Linked DNA regions of Homo sapiens: all the other regions are linked to region 1. The links are contacts of gene promoters, found by promoter capture Hi-C in blood cells and fetal thymus (Javierre and others, 2016). All regions are on one chromosome and are shown on one strand. The core of a region is centred on a gene start or on the middle of the fragment in contact, and the rest is flanking DNA. Distances in the headings are between cores, read along the strand shown.

Region 1 (2,700 bases), core at 69-2,568:
TTATTTTTTTAAAAAGAAGAAAAGTCACAGAAGTTAAACTTTCTTTAAAGCGGGACTCTGGACTTTTGAAAACAAGTGTTGCTGTTACGAACAAAGACTAGAAGTGTACCCAGATTTTCTCCCCCCCGGGGATCATTTCTCTTCCAATCAACAAACAAATCCCCCAGTATTTCCTACCGAAAGGGAAGGGAAGTTTTCCAGGGAGAGTCTCCTCCTGGGTTTGGTGGTAACTGCGACTCAGTCTTTTTTGGACACAATGTTTCTGCTGACTCCTGAAAATTTTCCACTTGAATGTGCAATGAAGCGGCGGCGGCAGCGGCAGCAACAGTCCTGGAGAAGCGGCAAAGACGACCGTGCCCTTTTTCATCTTTGAGAAGAAGGAGCGAACCCCCCGCCAGCGGCACAAGTCTGCGCAGACCCGGGCCGGCCTCGGGGGTACCCGGCGCCGGGGGGCGGCGGCGAAAGCAGGGGGGTGCAGGCCGGCTCCGGGCTCCGAGGCGGCGGCTCTGCCCGCCCGCGCTCGCTCCGAACTTCTGGCTCCCCAGCGCACCCCGTCCAAGGCGCCCGAGGGTGTGTGCGTGTGTGCGCGTGCAGGCGGCGGGAGAGGGGGCGCGCGGGGGGCGCGGCGCGGCCGGCCGGGGGCCGCCTGTTGCCGCGCGGGCTCCCAGCGCGCGGCCCAACTTGGCGTCCTGGCAAGTCGCGCGGCGGCGCCCGGCCGCTCACCTCGGAGGGGGCGCGGGGAGGCGGGTGTGGGGGCCCGGCCGCGGCCCTCCGCGTGCCCGCCCGCCGTCGCACACAAAGCAGAGCCCGCAAAGAAAGAGCGGCCCGCGAGGGACGCGCCGCCGGCCCCCCGCTGCCCCGTGCGCCCCCCGCACCCCAGCATCCGCCCCGCGCGCCAACTTACCTCGGCCCAGGGAGCCACCGCAGCGCCCGGCGAGTCCGAGGCAAACTTCGGCGCCGCTTCCCCCGCCCTCTGCTCGGTGCCCGGCTCCCTCCCCGGCTCCCGGTCCCTGGGCCCGGCCACCCCACCCCTGCCTAGCACCGCTCCTGCCCCGGGGCCGGCTGGCGCGCTGGGCTGCTGCCCGCGCTCCGGGCAAAGGTGGAGGGGTGGGGGGGCGTCACTGCATGGCCTGTGCCTGGACGCGGCCGCCCCGGGCCCGGGCCCCGCCGCGCGGAATGGCCCGCAGGGTGGAAGCGAGTCTGCAAAGTGCTTGGTGGGCGCCCGCGGCGGGCGGCGGGGCCGCGGCGGCGGCAGCAGAGGCTCGGCTCGGCTCAGGCGGCGCGGCGCGGCGCGAGCGATGCTAAGAATGTTCGGAATGAGGACAGGAATGAAATGAACGCCAGGACCGAACTCGCTCCGGAGGGGTGGGGCCTCGGTGACGTCATGCGGCCTGCCGCCCGGGGCTGGAGGCGGGGCCTGCCGCCGCCGGTGACGTCATGGGGAATCGGGGCGGACCGGCGCGGCTGCTTCGCCGTTGGGGCGCGGGCTTTCGGCAGCTGGGCGGAGTCTCGCGCCCACGGGGGAGCGTGGCTCGCGCGGGAGCCGCCCTCCGTCTCCCGGCGCGGGCTCCGGGCTTTGTCCCGAGCCGGGGCGGGGCGGGGCGGGGCGGACGGGAGCTGCGCGGCTTGGAAGTCCCTGCGCTCGCGCGAAGAACTCTGGAAGCCTGGGTTTCTTCCAGGGGGCAGGCGCCGAGGCGGGAGTTGCGCGCGACGCGCCTACCGTGCCTCAGTTTCCCTAGTCCGGGACGCGGAAGCGCGGGTGACTGCGTTGAGTGCTCCCGGACTCGCGGAAGTCTGCAAGTGTAGGGTAGAGAAGTTGCCTTTCTGGTGATGCAGATTGTTGCTCTCGAGCGCGGTGGACGCCGTCTCCGGGCCAGATTCCCAGCCTGCCATTTCTTCTCTTCCCTTTCACTTTTATAAAAGTTCACAGCTCTCACTCAAGTCGAAATCTGTCTTACGGTTGGGAAAGGAAAACCTTTAGCTTAGCAAAGAAGGATAATTACAGAGTTCGTAATAAACCTGCCCTGCTAGCAAGGTCTTCTCCAAGTCAGTTAAAAAACTAAGTTCACTCATCTCTGCCGGTTGTACTTTTCAAAAGTAACTTCCTAAACTTTGAAATGCTGCATCCGGCGACTTTAAGTTAGCCCTTTCATTATTGAGAAACTTCATTTCATTATTAAAGGAATCATTTTAACCCTGCCATTGGAGGTAGTGACGCAAAAGTGACATAGACGCAGTCGGTAAATCAGAAAACGGGTAAAATCGACCCACTGGGGACAGAACCGTCTAAAGTTTCGGGTGATTGTTATAATTATTTAACAAACTGCAAAGCAGTTCCCGCACAGTGGACCTCATTCGTTCTAGGCACTTGGCTCTCTTTTCCAGCTGAGGCCTCAGGATTAAATAACAACATATTTTGTGCCCGAGGAATCCCTATATCCCTATATATGGGTAACTGAGGAGACTAGACTGTGACTGAGTGCAACACATTTCTACAAAACATAACTTTTACTAATACATTGTTTTCCTTTTTTTTAATTTTTTTTTTATTTTATTTTTGGAGACAGGATCTTGCTCTGTCACCTAGGCTAGAATGCAATGGTGCGATCTGGGCTCGCTGCAGCCTCGACTCCCTGGAATCAAGCCATCCTCCCTTTTCAGCCTCCCGAATAGCTGGAACTACAGGCACGCACCACCACG
Region 2 (2,700 bases), core at 159-2,658, 200 kb before region 1:
CAAGGGCAGACGCAGGCAGCAGCTCCTGTTTTCCTTACACCTAAGCAAAGATCTGCGCGTGCTGCAGGGGGCTCACCAATATTTGAACTGACTGATTTATCCATGTACCCTCCCTTCATTCTGAAACATTCCCTGCATAATATTCTGCGTCAACAGCAGTGAAGACCCAGCAAGGCAGAGGACAAAGCTTGAACAAGGCCAGGAGCTCCAAGCGGCAATGCAGGCAGCTTCTCTGCAGCGAGCTTCCCTGCTGCGATTGGTGTGGGCTGGAAAGGGGGCATGACATAGAGGAGGGAAAGAGCAGCCTCAGGAGTCAAGCAACCCTGGGGCTGATTCTTGACATCACTATCCATTCCACTATGATCCCAGCTATCCAAACTCTTGTTTTGCTACTGAATAACCTCAGCTTTTTCATCTGCAAAATGGCAATGACAATAAGCAGCATTTAAGATTACCTGGAGGATTGAGATTATAACATAATGCTTCTCAGCCTTTGGTAGGTGTCAAAATGTAAATGTTAATAGAATACCTTGTCCCTTTAGGGGCTAGTTGCCCCTGAAGACAGAGGGACAGAGACCAAGGGCCAGGAAAAAGATAAAGAGAGAAGACGCCTGAGCCCAACCCAGAAAGGCACATTTAATTCCATGTCTTCAGGGACTCAGAATTCCTTCCTCTTCTGATTTTCTCCCTCTTCCTTTTCCTTTTTTCTTTTCTTCCTCTCCTCCTCCTTCTCCTCCCCCTCCCTTTCTCTCTAGCTCTCTGCCTCCCTTCCCTCCTTACTTTCACCACTTTAGACTCAGTTATCAGTTGACAAGGTAGCCTTTGCCCTCTCACATACCTGACCCACATGACAAGAAATGGAGGTGGGAGGCTTAACACTGGCACATGCCAACCCCAACCCCAGCAGCTGTCATTACTGGACTGAGCTCATGACTTACCCCCGGCGCCCCTGGGAAGGTCGGGCGTGGAATCCCAGGCAGCCCCAGCTTGTTATGAATGGCAGTGGCCGAGACGATCTGGGCTGAGGACATGGCCGCCATGTGCTGCAGGGCCTTATCCTTTGCAGTCTGATCCTTGAAGGTGACAGTGACACACCAACTTAATACATAACGCATGGCTACCAGGCAGGTTACACAGGCACAGCCACGAGCACATGGACTAAAATACAGAGCCACAAAATAGGCCAAAAAAAGCAAACATGCATGGATAAATAACACAGCCAGAAGGCTAAACCACACTCAACCTACCGTACCTCTCAACATTTACTGGGAAGACCCAATGGGGCAAGGCTTTTTTTAGGGATTAAATCCATTTTCCAACAGAATGTGAAGCCTCTCAGAAGAGTGGACAACGTATTTATTTAGCTTGTCAGCTTCCAGAAGATTTCTCCAATTACTTAAAACATTTAAGGAAGAAAAAAAAATAAAGGCCCTGCTTTTAAGCAAACGGATGGGAGGAGGAGTGAGAGAAGAGATGTAGCTGTGGACTGGGGTAGGACCGTCCACAGAGCTCGAGGAGCCCTATCTGTGTGTCCTGACTGTCACAGGGCCATGGTCCCAGGAGCTGCTGGGGTCATGCAAGGCCTGGAAGCCCTGCAGACACCTGGCTGGAGAGGCTCAGAAGCAGCGGGGGTTGGGGGTAACAGGGCCAAGCAGCATGCTGGCGGGGTGCATGCTTTCTCAGGTATCCCCGCCGTGGGGCTAAGGCTACGTGGGTTCGTACTGAAGCCAGGAGCCTAGGGGATGCTACAGGTACGTGGTTTCTCCTTTTCCTGAACGGGTCTTTTCTAGGAAAGCCAAGGCTAACAACACAAAGCTAGCCAAAAAAGTCTGCCAAGCACAGCTAAAATACAGAATACTCAGTTTGGTGAAAATACTTACCATGCTTGTTACCTGGATACAATAATAAACAATTTGTTAAAAGGATTGCATAAAAAGGGATTTTTTTTCTTCTTTGGTTAAAAAAAAAACATATATATATGTGTATATATACATATGTATATATGTACACAAACATATAATACTTGGGAACAATAAAATGCATAGGGGTGTGGGCCTTTTCACATTTTAGGAAGAAAAGGTGATCCAGATGGCTATCTAGAAAGGCAATGATTGAGAAGGGCACCCAACAACAGCAACAATAAAAAACTACCCCTCAACTCCTTTGCACTGGTTCTGTGGCTTCCCCAGGACAGACAGAGAAATAGCCTCCTGGTATGAGACAGGCCCGGTGGGCACAGGCAGGGCTTTGAGCCTCGTAGGCATATAAAGGCTACCGGTGCCAATAGAGGGTCTATATTCCAGGCCCAAATGCCATCAAAGCAAAAACAAAATGGTGACATCAAAATAAAAAGAGTGCTTTCCACCTCCAGGGAACGTCAAAGGGAGCTTCAGGCTAAGACACCAAGTACCAGCAGAGAGGGTGCTTCAATGCTTACTGATATAACCAAAGGTGATGAAAAAAACACATCAAGGCATCAAAAGCAAGGCCAAAGGAGTTTTTAAAAAATCAAAGCTCATGAACAACTGCTAAGGGCTTCTAAGAAAGATGTGCTAGGTGTTCCCAGGGTGTAGATACTACTTTGCCCTATAACTGTCAGGAAGACAATGTGAATTTCCAAAAAGCTTACATTAACCTTTGAAAAAGAGCCAATAAAGAAAAAGGGAAAGGGGAAGACCAGGTGTGGCTGCTCACACCTAT
Region 3 (2,700 bases), core at 116-2,615, 150 kb before region 1:
AGAGAAAAAGGAGAGAGAGTATAGGAAAAGAGGAAAGAGAAAAGGGGAGGGAGAAGATCTAAGGCAGAGGGGAGGCAGACAGCGGAGGAGGTAGGTAAAGTGAGAGAACGAGCTGACATGTGTGTTCCATGAAATGCCTTATCAATGCTCTATTGATAAAAGCATTCATATCAATGCTAATACTGGATAATTCATATCCGGCCATAGGTTCCACACAGGTTGTTGATCAATAGTTTACAAATACATGAAATTGGATCTGGGCATTTTTTTATAAACCCATTTTTCATTTTTTTCCATAATCTTTAATTAAGATGTTCCTACACTATAGAGTCAAAAAATAAAAGTCATGGTCCTCCAGAAGAGGTCATAGTTTCCGACTGCATGCTCAGGGAACCCCCAATGAAGGTATCATTTGTACTCCCATTTAATAGATAAAAAGGCTGAGAAACTAAGCGCTGACAAAGGTTAACTCTCCATGTCCACATTATGATACAATTATGAACAAAAATATTCCCCCACAGTGCTTTCCATTTCTAAATGCTTTCACCTGTATCATTTCATGTGATCCAATTAAACATTATTAATGATGAAGACTCAGAAAGGTTTTGGGAGGAGAACAGGGTCACAGGGCAAGAAAGTGATGGAACTGGGGCCAGAATTCAAAACTCTGAACTTCTCGTTTTCATATAAGAAATGGCAAATCACTGATCCAAAAGAATCAGGTGCTACTAAAGGAGCATCTCAGACATTTCTACTCAACAACACACCATACACAGGCCCTTGAAAAGCCAAGTATCCCACACAGGATCTGGCTCTGGGCAGCAACAGAGAAGTGGACAATTGAATGGGGCTCTGCTTCTTGAAGGCCTGGACAGCAGCTGGATCCACCTTTCCCAGTTTCAGGGCAGACAGGCTGGTGAACAGGCCATGGCAAAAACTAAACAAGCATGCAGACAGGCATAGAGCCCCCAAAGTGCTGCAAACACTTCCCTTGCCTTAAAGCCCTTTGTCATCAGCAGCAGCTCCGGAAGTTACAGCAGACTGGGATGTACAATATGCCTTCTTTCTGGGGTCCTAGGTTTTTCTCCAGACTTACTCGTCATCTTAAAATTGTTCGCTTTGATTTATTTAAGTTAATGTACCTCAATGGCACAACAAAATCATGACAATAATAAAGATATTTTAATTTGGGGAAACAGCACTCACAACCCCACAGCCTGCACAGGCCAAGGGTTTTTCTTTGTCCGGGTTCCCTTCTAGTCCTGTCCCCTGAAACAGTAGCCATGATCACAGAATAAGCACTACTTTGTATTCTACGTTTTTTGTATAATCGCATTTCCTCTCTCAACCCAACCATGTCTGATGACCCTGGCAAGTTCCTACTCCAAAGTCTTCTTTTAGGGTGTTATAATTTCATCACCAACGTAGACAACTGATCTCAAACAGGCTCCGTGACATGTCTGACCTGTAACTCCTAAGATCTGAGATCATGGTTTGGGTGAGAAGGAGAACGCTTTGGGGATGAGAGAAGAAGAAAGGAAAAACAACTTTGCTTTTCTTCTCAGGAGACAAAGTGCTATTAGAGACTAAAACTGTGGATGCCACTGTGGGTGGGTGGGGTGGGAGGTGCCTATGGCTTTAGGGCTACACAGCCATGATGCTGCCATATGGATGAAACCACTCTCCACTTCCCCACAGCAACAGTGTCTAGCGGGTTGAAAAAAATTACTGTATGGCAAGAGTCCTGAGTATACATTATTCAAACCAGATCACGTCCCACTCCCCATACATACTTATCCACTTAAAACCTTTGCTGTGTGGCTCTGCACTGATGGAGAGGTTTATATTCCACAGTATGGCACACAGTGGACCCCCATGACCTGCCACCACCTCCCCTTCACCTTCCCACCCTCCCTCCCCACAACTCCCTGCCCCAGGCCCTGAGCTCCAACCACCCAGTCTCTGCCCACCCAGCCCATTCTGTTTCTCCACCTCTAATCCCAGGAGGTGTGAGAAACTGTCCATGCCCTCCAAGAGCTGACTCACAATCGGGGAAAAAGAAAAAGGCTCCAAGTCTATGTTTATCATGAAAATCAAGAAGCTATTTTGTTATCTATGAAATAACATCTTTTAAATGCATTACTGCAAATGGTTTAAAACTGGCCAACGTATTACAGAATAAGACCGCTTTTAAGACTTTGTTACCGGCCGGGCTTGGTGGTTCACGCCTGTAATCCCAGCACTTTGGGAGACCGAGGCGGGCGGATCAAAAGGTCAGGAGATCAAGACCATCCTGGCTAACATGGTGAAACCCCGTCTCTACTAAAAATACAAAAAAAAATTAGCCGGGCTTGGTGGCGGGCGCCTGTAGTCCCAGCTACTTGGGAGGCTGAGGCAGGAGAATGGCGTGAACCTGGAGACGGAGCTTGCAGTGAGCCGAGATCGCGCCACTACACTCCAGCCTGGGTGACAGAGCGAGACTCCATCTCAAAACAAAAAACAAAAAACTTTGTTACCGTGAAACACAACACACACACACATACAAGTGCATAAGGCATAAATGGACTGTTTAAATGAAGGGGTTACCAAGTGAATATTTATATAGGTAACTAATTTTTTTAATTAAAAGAATCATTTAAAGCATTTCAGACAGCAAAGTGTAAAAAAAAAAAAAAAAATCACCTCTGCACAAGCACCGGT
Region 4 (2,700 bases), core at 197-2,696, 230 kb before region 1:
CAAACATCATAATTTTTAAAGCTTCTTCAGTGAATTCCAATACACAGCCAAATTTGAGACCACTGGTCTAGACGTTATACTCCAGACTCTTCGGGCATGCCTCTCCCACTGAATAGGCATTAATACCAACTTAATGTGACACAGACCAAGAAACCTGGGGATGCAGAGGCTCCATGGGCCTCAGAACCAAATAGGGTTCACTGAGAAACTCCATCCGCCTTCTTTATCTAGCAGTCCAAGTCTGCTCACATTCCAAGTTAAAACTGGCAATTCTCCAACTACTGTCCCTGAGTACTAATCTATTCCACAGGAAGTCCCAACTAACAGAAGGCTTGGGCAAAGCTGAGTATTATACATGGGTTAAGAATGTACAGTCCATGGAACTTAATCACTGGGACCTGCTTTAAAAAAAAAAAGATTGTGTGGGTCTAGACTCATCCTACTCAAGCACAAAACACTGCCCAAGGCAAACTAGCTATGATACTGCGCAAGTGCCTCTCAAGTCTCTAAAATGGGGACAGTGATGGCATTCACTTCACTGGATTGTTACAGGGTTTAAATAAGACACTCCACAGACTTCATCAGGGATCCTAGATCTAACAAGAATAAGCAGTCAATAAAATCTAGCTATTATTCTTTTAATAAGACCTCTCTTAGAGATTCACAGTAAATACTAGCGTATTAAAAGCAGTGCCATTGACTGGCCATGGTGGCTCATGCCTTTAATATCAGCACTTTGGAAGGCCAAGGAGGGAAACTCATTCAAGCCCAAGAGTTTGAGACCAGCCTGGACAACACAGTGAGACATCTCTACCAGAAAAAAAAAAAAAATCACCAGGTGTGGTGGTGCATGCCTGTAGTTCCAGCTACCTGGGAGGCTAAAGCAGGAGGATCACTTGAGCCTGGAAGATCGAAGGTGTAATGGAGCTATGATCATGCTGTTGCACTCCAGCCTGGGCAACACAGTAAGACCTTGTCTCTTAAAAAGGCACTTCCATAAAGAAACATTTTTAAACATATAATCTAGAGTTTCTCAAACTCAGTTGGTCACAAAACCCTATGAAATATATCCTGAAGGAATACTGGTTTAAATCTATAACCTGCTACCCACATTTGGATCTCTGGCCACCATGCCAAAAGACAGGAGGCTGGACACTCCATCTGATGCCAGTGTTGCATATAAGGGGCAGTGCAACTGAGGCCAGTATCTTTTGGAGAGGGCCAGGTCCCTCTCCTGTTCAACATCAGAGTGGTATCTTTTCCAAAGCTTCAAAAATCCTAAAAGGTATCAGGTGAGGTGAAAGAGAGAACCCTATCAAGCTCTGACATGGATGCAGCTGCATGGACTAGCCACCTGGCAGGTAAGACAGAAGCTGGGAGATACTATAAAACAACAGGGTCTGCCTCAGAAGGAAGAAATTATTTTTAAAAAGGTTAAAAGTAAAAGCCATTGTGTTAGGGAAGTGAGATTATGGGGGTGGGAAGAGGTGAGATTATAAGGGTAGGAGGGAACATCTTTGAGCTTTTTATACATTTTTTCAAATGTTGCCACATCACTTTTTCCAATTATAAACAACAGCCCATGGAAATGTATGAGACACAGTCACAGCTGCTAAGAAGCTTCTAGTCTTTCTAGTCTCAGTGGGCAAAAGTAAAAAAGAATAACATGGGCAAAGGTGTGGGCACAGACGTTGGTATAAAGGCAATCAGAAACACAAAATGGAATGGGGAGTACAGGGCAAAAGGCATTGTTTATTACCTAGACAACTGGCTATGTATCCGTCCATCCAACCCTGATTAACAACCTCTGCTTACAGCTAGCTCTCAGACCGCCCCAGTTCCAGAAGGCACCGCTTCTGTCCATTCTAGCGCCTTCTGCAAGGAGTGAGTTTATGGAAGGCATGAGATACAAGCCTTAGGGACTCACTGAGCTGAATCCCAGTCTCCCTTTAGGCTCCTCACTCCTAGCTGTTCTGCCTCGCTAGCTGCCCCTGGGCCAGGTCAGAGCTGGGGTGAAGTTGAGAAGCTGGGAAACTTGAAGTCTTTGTGCTTAACATCAAAATGTCCCTGCACTGCACTGCTGGAAATGGGAACCACGGCCCTGACATCTACAGGTCAAGAAGGTGAATGGGGGTAAAATCTACCACATACCAATGGGGACCATGAAGGTACAGCTGAAAAGCAAGGTGCTGAGTGTAAAGCACGAAAGCCTTGGAGCCAGACACAAACCTGAAACCTCAAGACTTCTCATATGTGCAATGGGGATATAATACCTGTAATATTTGCAACATATGTGAATATTAAAGGAGCTAATGCTCAGAAGGTGCTTGGCATAGGACCTGCCATATAAGAAATGTTTGATAGGGGCCAGGATTGGTGGCTCACACCTGTAATCCCAGCACTTGGGAGGCTGAGGAGGGTGGATCACTTGAGGTCAGGAGTTCGAGACCAGCCTGGCCAACACGGAGAAACCCCATCTCTACTAAAAATACAAAAATTAGCCGGGTGTGGTGGCACACACCTGTAATCCCAGCTACTCGGGAGGCTGAGGCAGGAGAATTGCTTGAACCCAGGAGACGGAGGCTGCAGTGAGCCAAGATCACACCACTGCACTCCAGCCTGAGCATCAGAGAGATACTCCGTCTCAAAAAAAAAAAAAAGTGTTCATGTTCAATAAATTATAGCTAAGATGACCATTGT
Region 5 (2,700 bases), core at 23-2,522, 190 kb before region 1:
TCCATGTTGGTCAGGCTGGTCTCGAACCCCCGACCTCAGGTGATCCACCCGCCTTGGCCTCCTTAAGTGCTGGGATTACAGGCATGAGCCACCGCACCCAGCTGAAATTTATCTTTTTAAGATGTGCCTTTTTGTCTGTTTGTATGCTGTGGGTGGTGGGTCACTCATATAAGCAACAAATACAGACAAGGATTAGTCTGGGACTAAACAAACCCAGTTCTCTTCTAGTCTTTGGTTTTTCATATTCACATTCATATTCACTTTCCTTCTTATTCAAGTTTCTACTCATAGTTTACTCCAGCTAAAATCACAGCCACAAGAGAACGAACGAGCTGCTGTGGCCACGGAAGCCGGACAATGACAAGAAGCTAACAGTACGAAGGCAGACACCCCCTAAAGGTAGTCAGTGAAAAAAATGACTCAATCTCCTCCAAGTTATATAACCTTCTGGGGAAAGAACAATGCCCAAAAGTATAAACAAAAACCTTCTAGCCCTATCCCACCAGGAAACTGAGAAGTCTCAGACAACCTGACTTCAGAAAACCATGATAGGAAAAAATATCCCCAGAAGCTAAGCAGAGAATGTATTACCAAAATACCACGTGAAATAAAAACCACTCATACAAGACATGGGTTCTTCTAAGCAGGTCCTATTTACGACTTCAACTTGCTCTAATACCAGGAACTGAAATTATTTCTACATACTTTCTACAGTAAATGGAAAACCACCATTTCATAGCACTACTGTTGGCTGGCTTTGTATCAGCTCAGCTCTATCCTTGTGAAAAATTCCTTTGGTCAAGAACAAGTCTGAAGCTTGCTGCTGTGGCATTCACTCATGTGCTTCACCAGCCTGAGACCATTGTGCTAGATTCTATTTCTCCTTCAAGGCCTCACTTGGATGTCACTCCCTTGGGGAAGTCTTCTCTAATTGCCCAACTAGGTTTGGTTGCCTTGTTCTACACCCCCATGGTGGCAAAAACTGTACTTCTTCCTAGGATGTACCCAAACTGTAACTGTATTTATAACTTTATAGTTAGTTGTAAAATTTGTGTTTGTTGTCTTACTTCCTCCCAGATATACTGCATACTTGAAGAGGGGAAGAACTCTGTCTTCTTCCTCAATGTCCCCCTAGCACCTAGCACACTGCTGGGCACAGAGAAAAGAATGAATGAGGAAATAACACAGCCTCTGCTGAAAGGAAGTGACCATATCCCCCAGATCTTCCCTAGCAGAGTAAAGAACTGGAAACACTGATGAAGACGAACATCAAAATGTCCTTAGGGAAATCTTGTCTGAGAATTGCGAAGACTCTCTCATCACTGCCTAGAATGTCCTAGAGTCATGGCTCTGTCCACCACCTGCCAGTGCTGGGACTGTGCAGGACATGGTCATCACTGGAAGGCAAAGGAATCATGAAATCTGGGGGCTAGAAAGTACCCCTAGGTCATCCATTCGCATTCCTGAAAGTCCTCATAAGCCTTAGTCAGCACTTCTAAAATTGAGGAAGTAGCCCATTCTATCTTAGAACATATTTAAGAATAAGAAGACCCTCCTTTTGGGGGTCTGCTTTAACTTTCATCCCCAGATCCTTCCTGTTCCTCTTAACAAGAAGTCCAGTCCCTTATTTATTTAACTGCCTTTCAGATATTAACAGCAGCTCTGGGGTCCTCTTGGAGTTGTACACAAGCTAAACCTCCTGTGTTACTTTGTTATCTGACAAGCTTTGGAACACTCCCACACACCATCCTGTGACCATCCTTTGTCTGTCTTCCTTTCAAAGCTTGGAGTCCAGAACTGTGGCAGTGCTCCTGCTATAGCATCAGAGTCAGTTTATTACCTCTCTCATCCTAAATACTCTACCTCTGTTAATGCAGCCAAACACTGCATTAAATTTTTAAGGAGCACAATAAATTATCAATATATGCCAACTTAAACTCCTAGGTCTTTTTCATACGGGCTCGTCTTCTGATATGTCCCTACCCCTGTTTCCAGTCTTTTTAATGCATAGCTGAGATTTTCAGACCTCAAAACAGAACCTTACATTTTTTCTACTCCATTTCATCCCCTTAGATTCAGTCTATCATTCCTGCCTGCAAGATCTTCTCAGATCCTGTGAACCCTTTTACCACAGGACAAGAACCTCTAAATTCAGTTTTGAGGATTGCTTTTCTAAGCATTCTCTTTCAAACTTTTGAGAACTACCAATATCCCCTGTAGTATCATTGGATCTACTTCTCCATCTCTCAGATGGTTGTACAGATTTTGCAATTTGTCTTGAAGGCTCGCTGACAACAGAGCCCAGCTAGGAGTACCTAATTACGAGAAGCCAGAGCTAAATGACAATGTCTGCAGACAAGCCAAGCATCCTCCAACCTGGGGCCTCACTGTGCATCCTGTTCAGGGCTATTTGAGCGGCCAAGGCGAAATAGATCCAGGGCTCTGTATTACATACAATTTTGTCCGAACCTTGTCCAGATGACAAAAATGTCTCCTACCCTCAAACTTGTTTATTTTCTGGGAAAACAGACAGAATACCTTGATAGATGTGACACATAACCTGACTAACTTTTAATTTCTTGCAGCACTTGGAGTTGAATGAATAAAATCAATATCCAAGACAGCCCTATTTGACTGTGTACCACAGCCTATACAAATGGCACCCCTTGGAGTTAAACAGTGTCAACTCACACTTTGACT

What was found. The method cuts DNA at HindIII sites, captures the fragments that hold promoters and counts their contacts. A CHiCAGO score of 5 or more calls a contact.
Region 2: a fragment that was not itself captured here is called in contact with the fragment with the promoter of TEAD1 in region 1 in 1 of 17 cell types (endothelial precursors); the score reaches 6.8 in endothelial precursors.
Region 3: a contact is called between a fragment that was not itself captured here and the fragment with the promoter of TEAD1 in region 1, in 1 of 17 cell types (endothelial precursors). The highest score is 5.2, in endothelial precursors.
Region 4: a contact is called between a fragment that was not itself captured here and the fragment with the promoter of TEAD1 in region 1, in 1 of 17 cell types (endothelial precursors). The highest score is 9.0, in endothelial precursors.
Region 5: a fragment that was not itself captured here is called in contact with the fragment with the promoter of TEAD1 in region 1 in 1 of 17 cell types (endothelial precursors); the score reaches 6.0 in endothelial precursors.

The regions. Positions count from the first base shown.
Region 1 is chr11:12,673,039-12,675,738 of GRCh38, reverse strand. It overlaps TEAD1 (TEA domain transcription factor 1), which reads right to left and starts at 1,318. Exons shown (of 13, transcript NM_021961.6): 1 at 905-1,318; 2 at 178-330. RefSeq lists an enhancer at 1-491 and a silencer at 1,327-1,626. The HindIII fragment of the contact is 11,683 bases long and covers 1-2,700 here.
Region 2 is chr11:12,878,081-12,880,780 of GRCh38, reverse strand. TEAD1 (TEA domain transcription factor 1) reads right to left here. Exons shown (of 13, transcript NM_021961.6): 6 at 939-1,073. Among named protein-coding and RNA genes, the nearest start is that of TEAD1-AS1, 43 kb to the left of the region's middle. RefSeq lists an enhancer at 1-234. The HindIII fragment of the contact is 2,437 bases long and covers 190-2,626 here.
Region 3 is chr11:12,819,257-12,821,956 of GRCh38, reverse strand. All of the region lies in intron 3 of TEAD1 (TEA domain transcription factor 1), which reads right to left. Among named protein-coding and RNA genes, the nearest start is that of TEAD1-AS1, 100 kb to the left of the region's middle. The HindIII fragment of the contact is 3,806 bases long and covers 1-2,700 here.
Region 4 is chr11:12,898,359-12,901,058 of GRCh38, reverse strand. The region is part of intron 9 of TEAD1 (TEA domain transcription factor 1); the gene reads right to left. Among named protein-coding and RNA genes, the nearest start is that of TEAD1-AS1, 23 kb to the left of the region's middle. The HindIII fragment of the contact is 353 bases long and covers 1,270-1,622 here.
Region 5 is chr11:12,859,108-12,861,807 of GRCh38, reverse strand. The region is part of intron 3 of TEAD1 (TEA domain transcription factor 1); the gene reads right to left. Among named protein-coding and RNA genes, the nearest start is that of TEAD1-AS1, 62 kb to the left of the region's middle. The HindIII fragment of the contact is 908 bases long and covers 819-1,726 here.